7 separate regions of the Homo sapiens genome follow, and regions 1, 2, 3, 5, 6 and 7 are each linked to region 4. The links are contacts of gene promoters, found by promoter capture Hi-C in blood cells and fetal thymus (Javierre and others, 2016). All regions are on one chromosome and are shown on one strand. Each heading gives the region's core, a stretch centred on a gene start or on the middle of the fragment in contact. The rest is flanking DNA. Distances are from core to core; before and after follow the strand shown.

What was found. The method cuts DNA at HindIII sites, captures the fragments that hold promoters and counts their contacts. A CHiCAGO score of 5 or more calls a contact.
Region 1: a fragment that was not itself captured here is called in contact with the fragment with the promoter of KIF26A in region 4 in 8 of 17 cell types (M2 macrophages, M1 macrophages, naive CD4 T cells and 5 more); the score reaches 9.2 in M2 macrophages.
Region 2: a contact is called between a fragment that was not itself captured here and the fragment with the promoter of KIF26A in region 4, in 14 of 17 cell types (naive CD4 T cells, endothelial precursors, naive CD8 T cells and 11 more). The highest score is 34.1, in naive CD4 T cells.
Region 3: a contact is called between a fragment that was not itself captured here and the fragment with the promoter of KIF26A in region 4, in 3 of 17 cell types (endothelial precursors, M0 macrophages and M1 macrophages). The highest score is 8.4, in endothelial precursors.
Region 5: a fragment that was not itself captured here is called in contact with the fragment with the promoter of KIF26A in region 4 in 11 of 17 cell types (naive CD8 T cells, naive CD4 T cells, total CD4 T cells and 8 more); the score reaches 16.9 in naive CD8 T cells.
Region 6: a contact is called between a fragment that was not itself captured here and the fragment with the promoter of KIF26A in region 4, in 14 of 17 cell types (M1 macrophages, M2 macrophages, M0 macrophages and 11 more). The highest score is 23.5, in M1 macrophages.
Region 7: a fragment that was not itself captured here is called in contact with the fragment with the promoter of KIF26A in region 4 in 8 of 17 cell types (total CD8 T cells, naive CD4 T cells, non-activated CD4 T cells and 5 more); the score reaches 10.2 in total CD8 T cells.

Annotation. Positions count from the first base shown.
Region 1 is chr14:104,610,289-104,613,384 of GRCh38, forward strand. No RefSeq gene overlaps it. Among named protein-coding and RNA genes, the nearest start is that of TMEM179, 7.1 kb to the left of the region's middle. The HindIII fragment of the contact is 479 bases long and covers 1,557-2,035 here.
Region 2 is chr14:104,572,439-104,575,411 of GRCh38, forward strand. No RefSeq gene overlaps it. Among named protein-coding and RNA genes, the nearest start is that of C14orf180, 5.8 kb to the right of the region's middle. The HindIII fragment of the contact is 1,291 bases long and covers 879-2,169 here.
Region 3 is chr14:104,593,597-104,596,518 of GRCh38, forward strand. It overlaps TMEM179 (transmembrane protein 179), which reads right to left. Exons shown (of 4, transcript NM_001286389.2): 3 at 1,569-1,647; 4 at 1-62. Among named protein-coding and RNA genes, the nearest start is that of TMEM179, 9.7 kb to the right of the region's middle. The HindIII fragment of the contact is 2,635 bases long and covers 233-2,867 here.
Region 4 is chr14:104,137,301-104,140,066 of GRCh38, forward strand. It overlaps KIF26A (kinesin family member 26A), which reads left to right and starts at 1,287. Exons shown (of 15, transcript NM_015656.2): 1 at 1,287-1,464; 2 at 1,743-1,988. The coding sequence starts at 1,423. KIF26A-DT (KIF26A divergent transcript) reads right to left here and starts at 1,329. Exons shown (of 3, transcript NR_158217.1): 1 at 230-1,329. RefSeq lists an enhancer at 1-589 and a silencer at 286-455. The HindIII fragment of the contact is 14,398 bases long and covers 1-2,766 here.
Region 5 is chr14:104,537,770-104,540,569 of GRCh38, forward strand. All of the region lies in intron 1 of LOC124903395 (a long non-coding RNA gene), which reads right to left. Among named protein-coding and RNA genes, the nearest start is that of C14orf180, 41 kb to the right of the region's middle. The HindIII fragment of the contact is 856 bases long and covers 1,090-1,945 here.
Region 6 is chr14:104,628,760-104,631,560 of GRCh38, forward strand. No RefSeq gene overlaps it. Among named protein-coding and RNA genes, the nearest start is that of TMEM179, 25 kb to the left of the region's middle. The HindIII fragment of the contact is 4,545 bases long and covers 1-2,801 here.
Region 7 is chr14:104,520,699-104,523,398 of GRCh38, forward strand. No RefSeq gene overlaps it. Among named protein-coding and RNA genes, the nearest start is that of C14orf180, 58 kb to the right of the region's middle. The HindIII fragment of the contact is 3,221 bases long and covers 1-2,700 here.

The sequences.
Region 1 (3,096 bases), core at 546-3,045, 470 kb after region 4:
TAATGTGTCCCCCAAAATTCATATGTTGGAAATTCAATCCCCAGTGTGACAGTGCTGAGAGGTGGGGCCCTCAAGAGGTGACTAGGTCAGGAGGGCTCATGAATGGATTATTGCCATTACTGGGAAAGTGGGTTATTTACCTTGGAAATGGATTCCTTATAAAGAAAGAATTGAACCCCTCTTTCTCTTGCATGTGTGGGCTCTCCTGCCCTTCTGCCTCCACCATGAGATGACATAGCAAGAAGGCCCTCAGCAGATGCTGGCACCTGGATATTGGACTCCCAGCCTCCAGAACTGTGAGAAAATAAATGTTGTTTAAGCTGCCCCATCTATGGTACTTAGACTCAGCCGTCCCAGAAAACTCATACACAAGGAAGTGCCTGTCTCTGACAGGAAGGAGCAAGCCCCTTCTGTAGGCCCAGAGGCTTCCAGAAGGCATGGGAGAGCCCCAACCTCTGAGCATGTCATCACAGGTGGGGTTCCCTAGAAAGCAGGCTCTAAGGTGGAGAAGTACCCAGTGAGGTTTGTTGGAAGGATTCTGTGAGCACAGATGGGGAAGAAAAGAAAAACAGGAGAGGGCAGAGGGGCTCCTGGCCGAGACACAGTCTCAGTGGTGGCTCAGCTGACCCCAGGGTCAAGGGCCTGGGCCTTTGTAAGCACATGTTGATCAGTCACTGGAAGCAGCTGGCCTGGGACAGGGAGTGACCTGGGATGAGGCAGCATCAGAAGAGGCTGGCAGCCAGGAGCCATCGAGGGCAGCTCATATGGCAGTTTGGGGAATAAGTTCTATCCTAAAGGGGCCCACCATGGAGGCCTGAGGCCAGCATGGCAGCCTTGCCAAGGCTGAGGGTCCCATCACCTCAGGAGCTATGTTGCTCTTAGAATTTAAGCCCTGGACTGGACCCCCACCTGTCCCTGCCTCCAACCGTAGGGGATGAGACTCTCTGGACAGGCTGCCAAGCAGGCCCACTGCCCCCACACCCAGCCTTGAGTGGAGATGAGTCAAGCTCGGCTCCCATCATCTTTCTCCAGGAATTTGTAGCACCCAGCAACAGCCATCTGATCCATGGCTCTGTGATTCCTACATTGCCTCTGCCTCTCGTGCTTCTGAGATAAGGCACCAACCAGTGCAGTTCCTCCCCTACCCAATACAGCACCTGGGGCACCACGGTGAGAGGGTCCCTGACACGGCAGGGCTATCACTTCTGCACCAGCCACAGCAACAGGGACCGCAGCCAGTGACTGGCAGTGGTTAGTCTAGCCCCAAATCCCATGTGTGTCTGCCTCCTAGGACCACCCCTAGTTTAGGAGAACTGACGCTGGACCTCGAGGTTTGTAGACAGGAGGACTGAGTGTGCGGGTTCCTCTCAGGAGCAACACCTGTGAGCCACCAAGAGCAGCAGGACTGGGCCAAGGGAGAAATGCTCGGTGACACAGAAGCAATCCCCTGGGAACAGCCCCTTCAGAGCGACCCCACAGAGGAGCAGGAGCTGGACCTTTGTACCTCCACACTGACCCATCACTGGACGCAGGCTGCCTCCAAAATTAAATCCCAAAGCTTTAAAAGGCTGATAATGCCCACTCCTGGCCTGCCAAAGCTGGGGACCCCAGGGAGGAGGGAGCCCCGTGGTCTTCTGGCGGGAACTGGCACAGTCAGTAGAAGCTAAGATCGCCGCACATGCTTTGACCCAGATCCACCACTTCTGAAACACGGGGGCTCAACAGAAAAGCCTCATTTCATAAGGACATGTGTACATGAATGTTTATTACAACGGTTTGTACCAGCCAAAAATGGAAAACAACCAGAATGTTTATAAACCAGGGAGCAATTTAATACATTCTGGCACCTCCTTATAATGGAAAGTTTTGAGCTGTTAAACGGGAGTCGTTTCTGTGAGTATTGGCTTGAAGGATTATCTGTCTAGTGCTATATTTAAAAAAGCAAATTGTCAAGTCATGTGTTTGTATTACCCCATTTTATTTTTTATAGTCTTTAAAAATTTAATACTTTTGCTATTTACAAAATCTCTTTTAAAGCTTAAATAACTTTCAATTCAATGTTTTGGATATTGTGAAAGGTGATCAACCTTTTCCCCTTATATGGGTGGCAATTGTATATTGAACTTCTTTTACTTTTTAAAAATTTTAACTTTAAAATATTTTAAATTCACATATAAGTGGATTTGCTTCTGGAACTGCTCTTCCTTTTGTCTTTGGTGTATTATACAAATAGCACATTTTTTCATATGGACATTGGCGATTTATTTCATCTTTTTTGATATAATTATTTTTATTATTTTACTTTCAGTTCTGGGATACATGTGCAGAATGTGCTGGTTTGTTGCATAGGTATACATGTGCCATGGTAGTTTGCTGCACCTATCAACCTGTCATCTAGGCTTTAAGCCCCTCATGCATTAGGTATTTGTCCTAATGCTCTCCCTCCCCTTACCCCCCACCCCTCAACAGGCCCCAGTGTGTGATGTTCCCCTCCCTGTGTCCATGTGTTCTCACTGTTCAACTCCCACTTATGAGTGAGAACAGCTGGTGTTCGGTTTTGGACATGAACTCATTCTTCTTTATGGCTGCATGGTATTCCATGGTGTATATGTGCCACATTTTCTTAATCCAGTCTATCACTGATGGGCATTTGAGTTGGTTCCAAGTCTTTGCTATTGTAAATAGTGTTGCAATAAACATACGTGTGCATGTGTCTTTATAGTAGAATGATTTACAATCCTTTGGGTATACACCCAGTAATGGGATTGCTGGGTCCAATGGTATTTCTGGTTCTAGATCCCTGAGGAATCACCACACTGTCTTCCCAATGGTTGAACTAATTTACACTCCCACCAACAGTGTAAAAGTGTTCCTATTTCTCCACAGCCTCACCAGCTTGTGACTACCATCTGCACACATGAGTGAGGGGAGAGAGACCCTGTGCTCCAGCCGCTGTCACTGGGGCTAGGGGAGGACACTCCCAGCTCCCTCTGTGGAGGAGATGTCCACCTGGAACTTCAGGGGTGGTATGGCTCCCCCCACTGACCCCCAGGCTGCAGAGCTCCCTCCTATCCTTGTCCTCTGCTGCAGTACCGC
Region 2 (2,973 bases), core at 274-2,773, 440 kb after region 4:
CCCAGCCAGCCTGTCCCTCAATGCTCTCCAGCAGGCACAGGACCAGAGAGCCACAAGCTGTGTGCCCACCCTGCACACCCACCCACAGCCCTCCCCCCATACCTCCTGGTCCTCGAGCCTATGCTTCCCACAGGCTCCTACCTGGTCATCCAGGCCAGCTGCCATGGCCCAGGAGCCTGCATCCATCCTTCCCTCAGCCACAGTGACACCCAAGGCGGTGCTCACAGCTCATCCCTGCCCTCAGGGCCACCCGAGGGGTCACCAGTGCCACAGCCAGTCATGTTATGTTGCACTGACTTCCCCAGCCAAATGCCTGGGGACCGGGGCTAGAGTTTTTCCTCCATTGTCCATTAATCATGGCTACCATTGTTGCATGGGTTCCTGGAGGTCTGGACCACCTGCCATGTGACGTACTAAGCATGACGTCACGAATGTAGCTGATCAGCATCATTTTCCGCAGACCAGGAGTGTCCCAGAGCACTGGATTGCAAGAGTAGCAAGAAAGTGCCAGTGGCTGGAGCACTGCTGTCTCTCACAGGCAGCTGGGTGGGCCCCTCTCTACTGAGGTGGTTGAGAAGGACACACTTGCTAGACACACCGCACACACCCAGGGCCAGAGGATGTGGTGACTCGGTTCAGTCGAGGTATCGCATCCGGCGGCGCATTTTCCATGTGGGCTGACTCTGCGTTGGGTTGGGTTCATCCATCACCATCGGCCATGATGCTGCTGGTTTTTGTGGACCATATGGGTGAACAGAGTGGGAACAGTGGGGACAGTGGGACTGACCATCCCTGTATCTTTTGAGTCTTTGGGGATGGTCCTAATTTCTGCAGATGCTCAGGATGTGTGGAATGACTCTCTTGGCCAGGGTCTTAGAAGCTTCCACTTGTTCGTTTGGGTTTTTTTCCTGCCAAAATGGCTCATAATCATTAGGTCAAGGAACCAATGGGCAGGCTCTGCCAACTGCAGAGTACAGGCAGCCCCTTCCCTTAGGCACGAGAGGCTGAGGGTCCCAGGGTCACTGCAGGGCGGGCTTGCCTCCAGGTCTCCGGGAGCCCTTACTCTACCCACAGCGGGGTTCTGGGTCCCCTGATATCACTGCCAGCTCAGAGCCCGTACCCACAGCTCTCAAAAGATCAGGAGAGTCTCCTGCCCAGCACATAGTTTCTGTGGGCCCTGGACACTGACTTCTGCCCTTTCAGGCCAGCTGCTCCTGACACGGTGGAAAGATCAGGAGAAGCTGCCCTCCCCAGTGGGCCGGAGGGCTCCAGGCGGCAACAGGGAGGGCAGCACCAGTGACGGGCACACCTGGGCTGAGGGAACTTTGGGCACCCAGGCTCTGGGCCACTCAGCCACTGCCAGGTGGGCACCCGCGTGAACCAGAACTGTGTGCCTGCCCGGCCAGCCCAACCTTGCCGCTTTCACAAGGAGGCACACAGTAGCCCCTCAGAACCTGCCACGGCCCTGCAAGGAGAGGATTCCCCTGGGGCAGGAGGTAGTAGCTCTCGGCCAGGCACTGACTGCCCAAGGTGGCAGGCCCAGGACAGGGTGTGGGTGGGGCCCTCCCTCCCCCGGTTCTGGTGCCAAGCTCTTCCCAGTGTCCTGTGCCTGTGCCCCATGTCCCAGCAGCTGTGTGCAGGGGAGTCATGACCAAGGGCGGCACCCAGTCCCCTGGATCTGAGCCCACTCCGTAAGCTGCCGCCTCACAGCCCGGCAAGGAGCTTCCCCCTACAGAGCCCCTGTCCTTATCTGCCAATGAGGCCAGGCCTGGGGCTCAGGAGGCGGTGGGGAGGGAAGAGGAGCTAAGCCCTGTGAGGAGCTAAGCCGTTGCACACAAGTATGCATTCTGCCCATCTAGCGCTTGGAGAGCATGGTTAATGGAAAGACCCAACTCCGTAGAACACGGAGCTTTCTTCTGAGCCAATATGAGTGACCGCGGCCCAGGAAAAAGTGCACACACCCAGGGAGCCCTGAGTGGGGGGTCCTGAGGCAGCCAGACACCAGCTCTGCTTCCCACCCACCTTAGTGTGACGGAATTGCAGGCAGTCATAGTTCAAGGAGCTTCTACATCGGTTCAGCCCAGAAAGGCAGGGTGTCTTGAAGCAGGGGGCTGACAGGTCGTCAGCGGGGCCAGAGATTATTTCATTTGCAATTAGTTAAAGAAGTAAAGCTTTGTCTATAAATGTGCAGTCATCAGAAAGGAATGTTTTCGGTGAAGATTAAGAAGTCTTTTAACCGATACACCAGGTCACAGTGGCGTGTGGGGTGCATGACTTGACCCTGGGCTGGCGGCCTTCGGTCCTGTTTATAATTCGAGTCTTAGGGTCACAGTCCTCTGATCACTAGGTTAACGTCACTACTGGTCAGCCCTGCCTGAACTCCCGCAGGGAAGGGGGAGAGCGAGGCACGTCTGCCCTCCTGTCCCATCATGACTGGGAACTCAGTTGTTCCGGTTTCTCTGGAGTCCCTTTGGCCAAGAGGAGCCTGTTCAGTCGGTTGGGGCCTTAGGGTTTTATTTTTATTTTACAGCACGTAGCACTTTTGCACACGGACAGCGTGGCCCTCACAGTTCGGCGCACATGTCCACAGATGTGTGGCTTGCCTGCGCCACAGAGAATGCACGCTTCTGGTGTGAGAATGAGGCTGTGTGTGACGTGTGAATGCTCGGCCCCGGCCGGCCGCAGCCAGGTCCCTGCGGTGGGTCCTCAGGCCCGGAGACCAGGGATGGCGCCCACAGTGGGAACCTGGGCTGACCGGCTGCCCCCGGGGCCCACGCCTGCAGTCGCCCCACTGAAGCCCAGACAGACCCCCACACGGCCTCGCCTCAGAGCCCAGAACCTTCAGCAGGTCAGGCGGGGTGGTGGAAGGATCTCCCGGCCCCTCCAGCCAGCCCCTAAGATGCTGCTGGAAAAACAGCTGTGGCAGGCAGCTCGGGGGGCCCCGGCTCGGTTATGGCTTATGTACAGCCCCGA
Region 3 (2,922 bases), core at 300-2,799, 460 kb after region 4:
ACCTTCAGGAAGGCCAGCGTGGTGATGGCCAGCCAGGCCAGCCATGAGGCCCAGAGGCCAAACTGCACAGAGGGCAGGGTCAGGGTCAGAAGCCGTTGGGGGTCCGCTGTCAGTGCAACCCCCTCCCACCAGCCCCCAGGCTCTGCTCTGCAGGGAAAGGACAGGACTCAGAGGAAGGAGGAGGCCGGGGACATGGGGCAGGGCCAGCTCCTGAAGACCCTGCCCAAGATCAAGCTTCTGAGTTCCTTCCTGCAGCCAGCATCGTTTTCCAGCACCTGTGGCCCTCCCGGAACCCACTCTGGTGCAAAAGCCCTGGGCACTCAGACCAACCCTCACTCCAGGCCGGCCAGAGGCCCCGAGGAGGGGCAGTGGCCAGTGGCGAGTGCTTTCTCCTCCAGCAGCTCCGGCCTGTCGGCTCTAAGGAGGGCGGGTAAACAGCGGAGGCTCCTCCAACCACCGGAATAAATTGACCTTTAGCCGCTGTTTCCAAACAGTTGAAGGAGAAACAATTTAATCAGAACCAGGCCTGAGCTACATTAAGCTGATTCTCATTTGAGCGTATTTGCCATCAGACTGCACTCACACCTTAATCCAACTGGCACAAATTAGGCCTGAGGCCTCTTCCACTCACTAAATTTGCATGAAGGTGTCTTTGACAGGTCCAGTTCATCTCGGCAAAGAGCATTCAGGCCCACCCATGTCCAGCACCCTTGGAGGGCTCCTGGCCAGGAGAAGCGTCCTCAGGCCAGCCACGGCCAGCAAGAGCCTTCAGAGGCCAGCCTGGGGTCCGGAATTGGACCTGAAGCCAGCGGGCCCTGATCAGTGCTGGCAGGAGCCAGGTGTCTGGTCTCAGCCACCCCCACCCGGCACCCCTCATCTGCCTCATCTCCGTCTGGGGCACATCTGCAGATTTCAAGGGGCAAACCCAATTCCAGGGTTCCCCCTCCGGCCCTCACGGGCCACTGATGTGTCCCCACATGCCTGCATTTCAGCAAATAGCGTCCCTCAGAGTGGGGGCCACCATCGCCCTCCACCAAGTCTCCTAGGGGGCGGGGGACGCAGCTTATACAAGGGCAGGGTGGCAAATCTGAATTCACAAGTGGGATCCCCTGCCTCCTTCCTTGGACTCTGTATCAGCTTCCCCCTGGCTAGGGGACTCCTCTAAGCCTCCAGCTCTGATCTGAACAGGCCCACCCAGCGCCAGCACCAAAGTCCAAAGCCCTTGTCCCTACACTGGACCCCCAGGATCTGATGCCTGGTTTCGTTTCTGGCACCACCTCCCCCCACACCCCCACACTTCCCACCCCAGACCCCAGGGCCTTGCCACTTCCTGATTCTAACTCACTGTGGCCATCTCCTCCCCAAACCCACCTACAAAAGCCCAGCTCTCCCCCACCTCCTGCAGGAAGCCTTCCCGACTGCTCCCACTGCCTGGTCCCATTGCTAACTACCTTATCCACACAGGAGCCTGCCTCCTCCTCTGGATGGGGGAGAGCTCAGCAAATGTCCAGCAGTAAATGGCCCCCTCCCAGCATTGCAAGCCTCCCTTCTTGCCCAGAGCCCCCTACCTGGGCAATTGCAAACTGATCGTAGAAGGCGGAGTTGTCCACGCCCAGCTCCAAGTCGATGTCCTGGAGCTCTTCACAGCTAAAACAGCAGGACATAGGGTGGAGGGTGACCACCAGGACAGCCAGTGCGGGACATGGCTGAGCCGCTGGCCAGAGAGCCAGGAGCTTTGCCCTACAATTGTTGGGCGAGGGGGTGGGCAGCAGGGAGTCTCTGGGGACATCACGGAGGGTTAGCCTCGATGCCTCCTCCATGGAGCAGGACAGCCTTTGGGGAAGGAAACCTCCAGGCCCCTCCCTGTCCTGGCCCTGGACAGCCAGAAGACGCCAGCTCTGCCTCTGCCCTCCTGGACCCTCTGCCCCCCATGCCCCACACTCTGAGGATCACGGGGTCTCAGAGGCCAGGCCCCTCCCTGTCCTGACCCAGGACGGCCGGAAGACGCCAGCTCAGCCTCTGCTTTTCTGGACCCTCTGCCCCCCATGCCCCACACTCTGAGGGTCACAGGGTCTCAGAGGCAGGAGATGCAGGGCTGCCTCAGCCAGACAGAGATGGAGGTGGCATCCCCACCAACGCTGCCCAGAAGCTCTGCCCCCATCACGGAGGCATCTGTGGAAGCAGTGGGCATCAGAGGGCCCAGGAGTGAGCCAGGCCTGGGCTCCCGGTAGGTGTCCTGCACCCCCAACATAAAACGTGAAGCCAGGACACATTGACAGGAGCAGGGTGCCAGAAAGAGGGGGCCCAGCGGCCCCAAATCCCTGGAGGGGCTGAAGGGCTGGAAACAGTGTCTGTGAGGCCAAGGAAACTTTGCGTGTGTACCAGAGGTTGCCCACACTCTTGGGAAGCAGGTGGCCCGAGCCAGCAGGCAGAGCTGGGACAGTGCACGATGAGGCACAGGGCACAGCTCAGCACAGGAGGCCCTGCAGGGCCACACACCCAGGTGCTCCTGCTTTCCTCTGGTTTGTGCCCCAGCTACCCCAGGGTGGAGGCACGGAACAGACAGGCAGGGAGCCCCTTCAGCTCTGCTGCATCTGTTGCAGATGCTGGGGTTTCAGGTCTGGGTTTGCTTAAAGGAAGAATGTGGAAACTCTGGAGGGTTCCTGTCTTCCAGGGTTTTGGCCTGGGGCACTGCATGGTGCCCCTCAGGGCGGGGCATCCCACTGTGGGGGGCAGGCAGTCACTGTGCTCCACTCTGGGGCCCCCCACAAGCCAGATGATGCCCCTGCTAAGATCCCAGAGGGACCACCATGGCTCAAAGGCCTCCATCCCCAACCCGCCTGGGAGCTGACCCTCACCCTGCCAGAAGCTTCCTCTGCTCCTGTTCTTCACCATCCCCGTCCCTTCCACCATCTTCCAAAC
Region 4 (2,766 bases), core at 37-2,536:
TGCAGGCTTACGGATCTCAGAAAGAGTGGAGAGCCCCTGCCACTTTATTCCATACCCCCTTGCGTTTTCGAACCCCTAAGGTCATCAACGACCCGGAAAGCCGGGAGGGGATCACCCACCCCACTTTCTGGGGAGTGCGTGCGTGGGCGGGGAGGCTTATCCAAGTAAAAGGGGGTGGGCAAAACGGAAAGGGTCACTTTGACGTACTGAGTCTCTGCGAAGGCCTCACCGTATGTGCCGGCAGCCGCGTGTCCTGGTCTCCGCCGGGTCACGACCTTCGGAGTTTCCGAGTGCGCCTCAGGCCTGGGACGCGCGGCGCTGTCTCCCCAGTCTCGGAGCCGTGTGCGCAGCGGCCGGCAGGGGGCACTCGCGTCACGGGGAGCCCGCCCGCCGCGCCCGCCTGGCTTGACCCGGGCTTTGGGGCTGACCCGGAGCCTGGCCCGGAGCTGCCTGCGGCCGCGGATGCCGGCGACATTTGGGGCCCGGCTAGGCACAGAGCAACTGGTCGCCAGGGAAGGGCGGGGGGGCGGCCTCCCAGCCGGAGACAAACAAGCAATTAATTCCGGAGCTGAGTTCCCATCTGCCAGGCCTGCTGACAACAGGTCCGGCGCACGCCCGCAGGACCTCCCGCTTCCCGGGCGGCACGGCGCGCACACCCACTTGCGGGCACACGCGCGGCTGTAAAGACACGTGCCGTTCGCAGACGCGCCGAGGCACAGATACGCCGGCGCGGTCGCTGCCCGGCTCGAGGCGCACACCGCGGCGACACTAACCCACGCGCGACAGTTAGACCTAAAGTGGCCCGCGACACGCAGAGTACGCTGGGCTTGCTGGAAAGGCGCCTGGGAGTCTCGGGGCCGGGGTCCCGCCCCTTCCTCGGCCCACCTCGCCGTGGGCCTTGGGCAAGAGCGTCCCCTCCGCAGCCTCAGTTTTCCCGCCTGTAGAGGGAGGGGCGTCGGCGCCTCCTGGGAGACGCGCAGCCCTGGTGTCCCGGGAGAGGGGCGGGAGGCGCATGCGCGCGCGCAACTAGATCCTCGCCGCCGCCCCCAGCGCCCCTCCCCGGGGCAGGGACTCACCTAACAGGTTGGGGTCCTTGGAGTGCGCGGGGCCGCGTGGGGAAGCGGGGACCCTACCCCCCCCACGCGCCGCCCAGCACTGGGCAAGGGCGGGGCACTCTCTGGGCTCCCGCCCCTCGCCGCCCGCCCCGGGAGCCCGAGCCCCGCCCTTCCCCGGCCCCGCCCTCGCCTCCCGAGCGCGCCCACCGGAGCCACCGCGCTCCTCGCGACACTCGCAGGCTCTGCGAACTTCCGAGCGGCTGGGCCGGGCCATGGGGGCGCCTCGGGGCCGGATCACGTAGCCGCGGCGCCCCCGGAGAGCCAGCGTGGCCGGGAGCGCCTGCCGGGCTCTTCCCGCGCCCCGGCCATGGTCGGCCGCGGCGTCCCTCTGTGCGCTGCGCAGCCCGCGGTACGCGCGGCCCGGCCTGGAGAGGGAGGCGGGCGGCGGGGGCCCGGGACGGCGAAGATACTCGCGGTGTGCGCTGGATCCCTGGGGGCCGGGCCTCCTGCTGAGGGTAGCGGACCCGCAGGCGGGACCTCCGGGGATGGAGGGAGTGGGTGAGCGCCAGGGTCGTGCCCAGGGCTCCTAACTTTGGCAAGAGCGTCACGCTGGGGCAGGGCGCGCAGGGGTCTGGATCCGACGGACGTCCCAGGCTCACTGTCCGCTTCCGCCCCCACACCCTGCAGGTGGCCGAGGGCGGCCCGGCCCGCGAGCCGCCGCCGCTGCTGGAGGTGTCCCCCCGAAAGAGGCTACCCGCCGGGCCCGACCAGGACCCATGCGGCAGCCGCCCTGCTCCCGAAGGCGCCGGGGCCGGCCCAGAGCAGGGCCACTCGGCCGGCGGAGGCGGCTGGTGCCGCCACTGCCACACGAAGCTGGTGGAGCTCAAGCGACAGGCGTGGAAGCTGGTCAGCGGGCCCGGGACCACCCTCCGGGTAAGTGACACTTCCTTAGGCCGACCCCTCCGAGCAGGGCCACGCCGAACTTGGGTAGAACTTGGGGCTTGGAGGGAAGCAGGGTTCCACTCCTTCCCTGCTGCTGTTTCCACAAAGAGTTATCAGCCAGGACTTCCCTTCTGCGGGCCTCAGTTTCCCGGTCTGTAACACCATGTGTGAGCTAGGGAGCTCAGCCCGAGGGGCCCTGCTGCCTCGGATGGGAGGGGCCTGGGCTGGCGTTCCTCCCCCAGCCCAGATGTCCCACAGCTGGAACGCAGGTTTGTGTGGGAGGAGGAGGGGAGAGAGCGGATGGCAGGGACTCCACCCAGGGCGGGACAGCTCCAGCCCTACCAGCAGGGAGAGGTTATTTGGTGCATTGTGGCCCTTGGGGCACCTGGGCCCCCAGCCAGGTGTCTGGAAATTACATACCTGGGGCCGGGGGGCCTGGCAGGTGAAAGGGTGGGCCACAGCAGCTGGGGGGTCCCTGCCTACTCCTCTCCCAGCCTCAAGGATAAGAACTGTTGTCCCATACCTCCTGGGATAGACTGAGGCAGTGGCCGCCCATGGGGAATTGAGTCGGGGCCCTCTGGGTTCCCCAGGCTCCAGCCCCAGGGGCAGGTGCTTGCAGGGGAGGGGTTCTCCTGGATTTCCAGCCAGTGGGCCTGCCGGCTTTGGAGGGAGCAGGGACCATTGTTCCAGGAACAATGCATGCTGGAAGTTTGCAAAGGCTGGGGGCGGGTGGGGGTCTCCAGAGGAAGCCCGCTGCCGGGCCTTCAGC
Region 5 (2,800 bases), core at 268-2,767, 400 kb after region 4:
GAGTGGCTGCAGGCTCGGCTGAATCAAGGTGCTCCACGATCAGCATCCATCTGATCCCCCCCACCCATGCTTTTCTTTCCTCTGCACTGGCCACTTTCTCTCACAGGCTTTCCATTCACCGGAGGAAATTGTTTCCAGCATTGGACTCATGTCTTTCCAGTTCAGGAACCTCAAAGAGAAGGAAGTCTATAAACCACATCCTGCCTTTCATTTTTGGACTCTTTTCTGTTCCATTGACCTATTTGTCTATCTTCATAGCGATAAGACATTATTTTTATTAATGTAGGTTTATAATAAGTTGAAATTGGATAGTATTAATTCTACAACTTTCTTTTTTTCTCCAAGTTGTCTTGCCTATTACAAGTTCTTTGCATTTCCATATGAATATTAGAATCAACTTATTAATTCTTACAAAAATGCCTAATGGGATTTTGATTGGGATTGAAATGAATCTATACATCAGTCCAGGGAGAATTGACATCTTAACAATTTTCAGTCTTCTGATGTATAAATATAGTATAACCATTCATTTATTTAGATCTTTTTTAGTTTCTTTCAGCAAAGCATTGCAGTGGGTTTTTTGTTTTGTTTTGTTTTCTGTTTTTGTTTTTGTTTTTGTTTTGAAATGGAGTTTCGCTTTTGTTGCCCAGGCTGGAGTGCAATGGCCCAGTCTCAGCTCATTGCAACCTCCACCTCCCGGGTTCAAGCAATTCTCCTATCTCAGCCTCCAAAGCAGCTGGGATTACAGGCTTCCGCCACCATGCCTGGTTAATTTTTGCATTTTTCGTAGAGATGGGGTTTCCCCATGTTGGTGAGGCTGGTCTCAAACTCCTGACCTCAGGCAACCTGCCCGCCTCAGCCTCCCAAAGTGCTGGGATTACAGGCGTGAGCCACTACGCCCAGCCAGCATTGCAGTTTTTAGTGTACAGGTCTCTCATATATCTTGTCAGATTTATCTCAAAATATTTATTTTATATGTTTATATTATAAATGGGTTTGTTTTGTTTTGTTTTGTTTTGTTTTTTTGAGAGAGAGAGTCTCACTCTATAGCCCGGGCTGGAGTGCAGTGGCTAATCTCAGCTCACTGCAAGCTTCACCTCCCGAGTTCACGCCATTCTCCTGCCTCAGCCTCCCAAGTAGCTGAGACTACAGGCGCCCACCACCATGCCCAGCAAATTTTTTGTATTTTTAGTAGAGACGGAGTTTCACCGTGTTAGCCAGGATGGTCTCGATTTCCTGACCTCGTGATCCACCCACCTTGGCCTCCCAAAGTGCTGGGATTACAGGCGTGAGCCACCGCACCTGGCCTATACATGGTATTTTTAATTTTTATTTTCTGATTGTTTGCTAATAGCACATGGCAAACAATAGATTTTTGTTGATTGATCTTGTATCCTTTCACTTTGCTGAACTCGCTTTTTTTTTTTTTTTTTTTTGAGACGGAGTCCCGCTCTTTAGCCCAGGCCGGATTGCAGTGGCACAATCTTGGCTCACTGCAAGCTCCGCCTCCCAGGTTCACGCCATTCTCCTGCCTCAACCTCCCGAGTAGCTGGGACTACAGGCGCCTGCCACCGCGCCCGGCTAATTTTTTGTATTTTTAGTAGAGACGGGGTTTCACTGTGTTAGCCAAGATGGTCTCGATCTCCTGACCTTGTGATCCGCCCGCCTCGGCCTCCCAAAGTGCTGGGATTACAGGCGTGAGCCACCGCGCCCAGCCAGAACTCGCTTATTAATTAAAATATTTTTAAGGATTCCATTACACTTTGTATATAGATGATGATGTTGTCTGCAAGTAAAAACAGCTTTATTGCTCCCTTTCCAGTATGGACGCCCTTTATTTCTTTTTCTTGCCGTATTGCACAGACTAGAACCTGTACAATATTGAGTAGAAGTGATGAAAGAGAACACCCTTGTCTTGTTCCCAGTCTTAGGGAAAGAGCATTGAAGCTTTTACATTAAGCGTCACGTTCACTGTAGGGTTTTTACAGATGCCTTTTGTCAGATTCAGAAAGTTTCCTGCTATTCCTACTTTGTTGAGAGTTTTTATTATTAAAGTATATTGAATTTTTTATGTTTCTGCATTTTTGGCTTCGTCATATGATTTTTCATGGTTTTATTAATATGATAAATTACATTGATTGATTTTCTGATATTAAGCTATACCTGCATTCCTGACTTAAATCCCACTTGGTTGTACTGTCTTTCTTTAACTAAACTATTGTTAGGTTCATTTTGTTAAAATGTGTTTAGAATATTTTCACCTATGTTCATGAGGGATATTTGCTGTAATTTTCTTTTATTTTAATGTCTTGGTTTTGGTATCATAGTATGATGGCCTCCTGGAAGGAGTATTCCCTCCTCTTCAGTTTTCTGAAAATGTTTGTGTGGATTTGGTATCATTTCTTCCATAAATGTTTGGCATAATTTGCTAGTGAAGCCATCTAGGTGTGAGGTTTTCTTTGGGGAAGAATTTAACAGTAAATTCAACTTTTGGAATAGATATAGGGCCAAATTATCTGTTTCTTAAGTCAACTCTGGTAGTTTGTATCTTTTGAGTAATTTGTTCATTTTATTTAAGTTGTCAAATACACTGGTATAAAGTCCATAATATGTGCCTTTACCATCCTTTTAATATTTGCAAAATAAATTTGCAGTGATGTCACCTTTCTCCTTCCTGATACTGGTAACTTGTGTCTTCTCTTCTTTTTTCTTGATGAATATAGCCACAGGTTTATCAACTTTATTAAGCTTCTGAATAACTAGCTTCTGGTTTCATTGATTTTCTCTATTATTATTGCAT
Region 6 (2,801 bases), core at 176-2,675, 490 kb after region 4:
GCATCTGTAGTCCCAGCTACTCGGGAGGCTGAGGCAGGACAATGGCGTGAACTCGGGAGGTGGAGGTGGAGGTGGCAGTGAGCCGAGATTGCACCACTGCACTCCAGCCTGGGCAACAGAGTGAGACTCTGTCTAAAGAAAAAAAAAAAAAAAAAAAAAAAACAGAGTAAACAGCAAAAACCAGAAGTATTGGTTTGCTAGGCCTGCCATAACAAAATACCACAGACTGGGAGGCTTAAACAACAGAAATTCCTTTTCTCAGTCCTGGAGGCTGGAAGTCCAAGCTCAAGCTGTCGGTGTTGGCAGGTTTGGTTTGTGCTGAGGCCTCTCTCCTTGCCTGGCGGATAGCCACCTTCCCAGTATGCTCTTCCATGGCCTTTCCTCCGTGTGTCTCTACCTCTTCTTATAAGGACACCAGTCAGATTGGATTAGGATCCCCCTCAGTGGCCTCGTTTTTAACTTAATTACCTTTTATAGACCTTATCCAAACACGATTACATTCTGAGGTACTGGGGATTGGGATGTCATCCTGGGGAGTGGGGCACAATTTAGCCCATATTGGCAGATAACCTACAAGGGAACTATAATTCAGCTGACTTCTTAACAACAACAATAGAAGCCAGAACAGAGTGAGGAAATGTCTTCACCATGCTGAGAGAAAGTATGTGTCAACCTGGAATTTTATACCCAACAACATTGCCAGTCAGGGTGGCAACTATATTTTTTAAAACACTTTCAACAAACAAAAATTAAAAATTGAACAATCACATTCCTTCACTGAAAGAATTCCTAAAGGATATTTTTCAGAGAGAAACAAATTAAATCCAAAGGAAGGAGTGAGAGTCAAGAAGTAGTGGTGGGGTGCTAGGCATGGTGGCTCACACCTGCAATCCCAGCACTTTGGGAGGCCAAGGCCAGTGGATCACCTGAAGTCAAAAGTTCAAGACCGGCCTGGGCACCATGGTGAAACCATGTCTCTACTAAAAATACAAAAATTATCCAGGCATGGTGGTGGGAGCCTGTAATCCCATCTACTCAAGAGGCTGAGGCACGAGAATCGCTTGAACCCAGGAGGCGGAGGTTGAAATGAGCTGAGATCGTGCCATTGCACTTCAGCCTGGGTGACAGAGTGAGACTCTGCCTCAAAAAAGAAAAAAAAAGTAGTGGTGAGGAGAAAATATAAAATATGTAAGTAAATCCAAATGAGATTAATCGTTATTAAATGATGATAAGGACAAATTTTGTGATATGAAAACAAGAAATAAGATGAAACTAAAATAACAGTTCAGAAAAACACATACAGAATAGTATAATTACCATTCAAATATTCCAACGTCCTTTTAATATTCTAGAGGATTGTATAGATTTTGATTGCGTTTAGACTTTAAGCCAAGTATGCATGTATCTACTAAAAATAAAAACAGAATTTGGAAAGAAAAAGGAAGAAGGAAAAAAATGCCTCAGCCCCACAGAAAACAGAAAACGAGGGAGAAAGAAGCCAAGGAAAATCACAAGAAATAAAAATCACAAAATAAAATTGCAGAAGTGAATCCAAATGTGTCAATAAATATGAATAAACTGAACTTGCAAGTTAAAATAGAGCTTCGACAAAACCAAATCCAGCTATACGCTTTCCTAAGAGATGCAAAATACAGAAACACCAACAATTTAGGTTTCAAGAAGAAATTTTAAAAATTAGCAAATACTTTATTCTCTTTAAGTTTATGAAGTTATATTAATACCAAACAAAATAAATGTCAAGTAAAAAAGCATTAGTAAAGATTCAGAGATTACCGTAGAATGACAAACATAGCTCAAATATATAAATAAAAAAGGTTCAGATTACAATGAAAAATTGACAAGTTGACATCAGAGTGGAAGATTTTCCACTTCACAACTGAAAATCATAAAAACTAATAAGGATCAGAAAGAAGAGAAAAGCACAGTGAAGCAGCACAGTCTAAGGAGATGCAGCTGAAGTAATGCTGGGAAGGGAAATATGTAACCTAAAACTGCACATATTGTAATATAATAGATAGTTAAAATTCTTGAGTTAAGAATCTAAATCAAGAAACACGAAACCAGCCACACCACAAACCCAAGAAAGGAATGGAACCATAAATGTATGTGCAGAAATGAATGGAACAGAGAACAAAAATCGCTAAGAATGACTGGCCAAAACTAGATTTTTTTTTCTTTTTTTTCGAGGCAGAGTCTCACTCTGTTGCCCAGGCTGGAGTGCAGTGGCATGATCTCGGCTCACTGCAACCTCCACCTCCCGGGTTCAAGCAATTCTCCCACCTCAGCCTCCCGAGTAGCCGAGACTACAGGTGCGCGCCACTACGCCTGGCTGATTTTTGTATTTTTAGTAGAGACGGGGTTTCACCACGTTGCCCAGGCTGGTCTTGAACTCCTGACCTCAGGTGATCCACTGGCCTCGGCCTCCCAAAGTGCTGGGATTACAGGTGTGAGCCACCGAGCCCAGCCAAATCTAGATTTTTGAGAAGCAAAATGGTAAAATAGACTAACCTGTCTGTAAGTACTGTTTTAGCTGAACCCCACAAGTTTTGATAAGTAGTTATTATGCAAATCTAAACATTTTCTAATTTCTTTTATGATTTTGTCTTTGAAAATGAATTATTTATACGTGTGTTTTTCATTTGACAACTATGGATTTTGTTACTACCTTTTGTTACTGATTTCCAAGTTTACCACAGTTTGATCACAGAATATGGCCCCAACAAACCACTTTTTGGTATTTTTGAAATGTGGCCAACTTTTGAAAATGCCCCATGGGTGCC
Region 7 (2,700 bases), core at 113-2,612, 380 kb after region 4:
ACCTAGACATCAGAGACCAGGCAGCCCACCGACAGCGAGGGAAAGCAGGGACACACATAACCATGGCACCTTGATCACCAAGGTCTTTGGTGGCAGCTAATTAATCACAGGGTCTCAAGGACAAAAGTGGTGGGCAGCCTACTAGGGTATTCTTTGGTCTAAATAACAGGAGAACCCCAGGTGTGCCAGCCAAACCCCCGACCTGAGTCACCGCAGTGGCCAGTCGCAGCCTCTCACCCATTTGCACACCCAACTCAATGCACAATCCAATGACCTGTGATTTGCAGCCCATGCTGGAAATACTCCTCCACGCCTTTCCCAAAGGGATGTACGACCATTCATGGGAGTAACTGTGAGCTGGAGAATGGAACTTTGCAGGGCTCTGAATTGATGCTAATCCTTGGGAACCCAAAACACGAGCACAGCCCATCAGTCACATGGGAACATACAGTGGTCAGGTCATGGATGGAACCCCCATTAGCTCACCTCTCACAGGGTAGGCTGTCCACGGACCCACAGTCTGGTTGTATCCCCAGTTCCTGAATGTATAATTGGAATAGACATACTGCCAACTAGCGGGATCCCCAGCATGGTTCCCTGAGCCCTGGAGTGAGGGCATTTGTGGTAGAGGAACTAGATGGAAAACGCTGGGACTTCCTTTCCTATCCATAAGAGAACCAGAATCAATATCACATTCCCGGGGAAACTGCAGAGATTAACGCCATCATCAAGGCTTGAAAGAAACAGAAGTGATCATTGCACACACACACACACACACATTTAATTCGGCTGTCAAGCCTGTGTAAAAGTTGGGTGAACCTTGGAGAATGACCGTGCACTGATGTAAACTGAAGCAGGTGGTGAATCCAGGTGCACCTGTTGTCCCACATGTATTATCTTTACTGTAGAAAATGGCATGGCCCCTAGCCCTTGTTATTCAGCTCTTGACCTCACCAATGTCTTCTCTGTACCAGTTTGGAAAGATCACCAGAGCAGTTTGGTTTTCTCACCTGGCCGGGCCAACAGTGCCCTTTCACAGTCTTGCTTCTGGGTCATGCCAGTTCTCCCACCTGCAGTGATAAGAAGCAGAGATTTTCCCACCTACAAAGCATCACGCTGGTCCTCTACACTCATGACATTACACTGAGCTGACTGTGTCTGATGAGCAGGAAGTGAAAATAACTTTAAATGCCTTAGTAAGACACACACTAACTAGAAGGTAGGAAATAAACCCCACAAAACATCAGAGGCCTGCCCATCAGTGAAGTCTCCAGGGCCCAGAGGTGTGGCGTATGTCAAGCTCCTTCCTCCAGGATGAATACAAGATGCTGCACCTCACGCCATCTTTGTGAGTGTGCTCCATGGTCATGGTCTTCTGGGTTCTGTGGACCACACTGAGGGGCCAATTGTGCGGATATTGGCTGCTGTTTTGAAGATCGTCTGCCTCTTCCAGCTACTTTCAGGATTTTTCCATCTTCTGTTTTCCACATTTTAATAGACAGTTTTGTTGGTTCACTCTGTCACTCTTACCTGGGTCTATAGAGTCCCTGGGGGCTGCAGCCTGGCCACTGTGGCAGCGGCATAGAATTGGAACCCACTGTCTGTCGCTCCCAGGACTGCCCATTCATCAGTGTGGGCAGAGTGGGAGCCATCTAAGGAGGTTGTGCAGGGAGAGTCAGAAGTGAAAGCATCTCAGGGAAGGTTTCCCGAGCTGGGTCAGCACCACGCCTTGCCAGGATGCTGGGGCCACACAAAACTGAGCATCTGCTCAGCCTCAGAGGTGGACAGGGGCCTTCTGCTTCATCTCCTTAGAGCAGTTCAGGCCTCTCCCCATCAGCTCTACAAGGTCCCAGGCCACAGGCCTGGCTTCCTTATCCTCTCCCTGGCTGCAGATGCAGGCCCCCTCAGGGTACCTTCCCAGCAGCCATCCTGGTCCTGGAGATCAGGCTTGGAGCCTGGTTTCCTGACCTCCCATGGCCCTTTTCCCCTGTGGCCTCCAGGCCCCTTCCTCTCTTAGGATGGGAGCCCTGCTGCCACAAGTATGGCTCAGTGATAACATCCTGCCAAGGCCTCTGGGGTAAAGTCACAGGCCTGCAGTGTGCTGGCCTCCCTCACAGGCCTGCGCTCCCCCAAGGACTCGAGCGGGAACCCCTCCTGCTTCCTCCAGCTTCTGGGGGCTCCAGCATTCCTGGGCTTGTGGAGGCCTCCCTCCAACTCCGTCTCTGTCTCAATGTGGGCTTCTTCTGCCTCTGTGTGCCTCCTCCATGTTCTCTTACAAGGACATTTGCCATTGGATTTGGGGCCTGCCGGGTCAGCCAGGATGTTCTCATCCCAAGCACAGGAAGCCAGGAGGACAGTCCTGCTCAGAGCCCTGAGGCCCAGCTTGGGGACGGCAGCAGCCTCCACTAGAGGATGGGGTCTGTGGCTGTGGGTGGTGTGGGGACCCCCGGCCCTCAGTGCTGCTGCCTTCCAACCAGTCTCCTCCCACGCAGACCCGCACCATCTCACCCCCACTGCATGGGCCTTCCCTGAACATCAGCCATCCTGGGACCTGGGGCTCTTCTTCCAGGATAACAGCAACATCCGGATTGTGGCCATGGAGCTGGGGCAGACACAAAGGTCACTGGAGAGGCCATCACTGGACAAGAGACCCAGAGCCCTCTGAGGCCCAGCACTCATCCACCTGATGAGCTCTGAGCC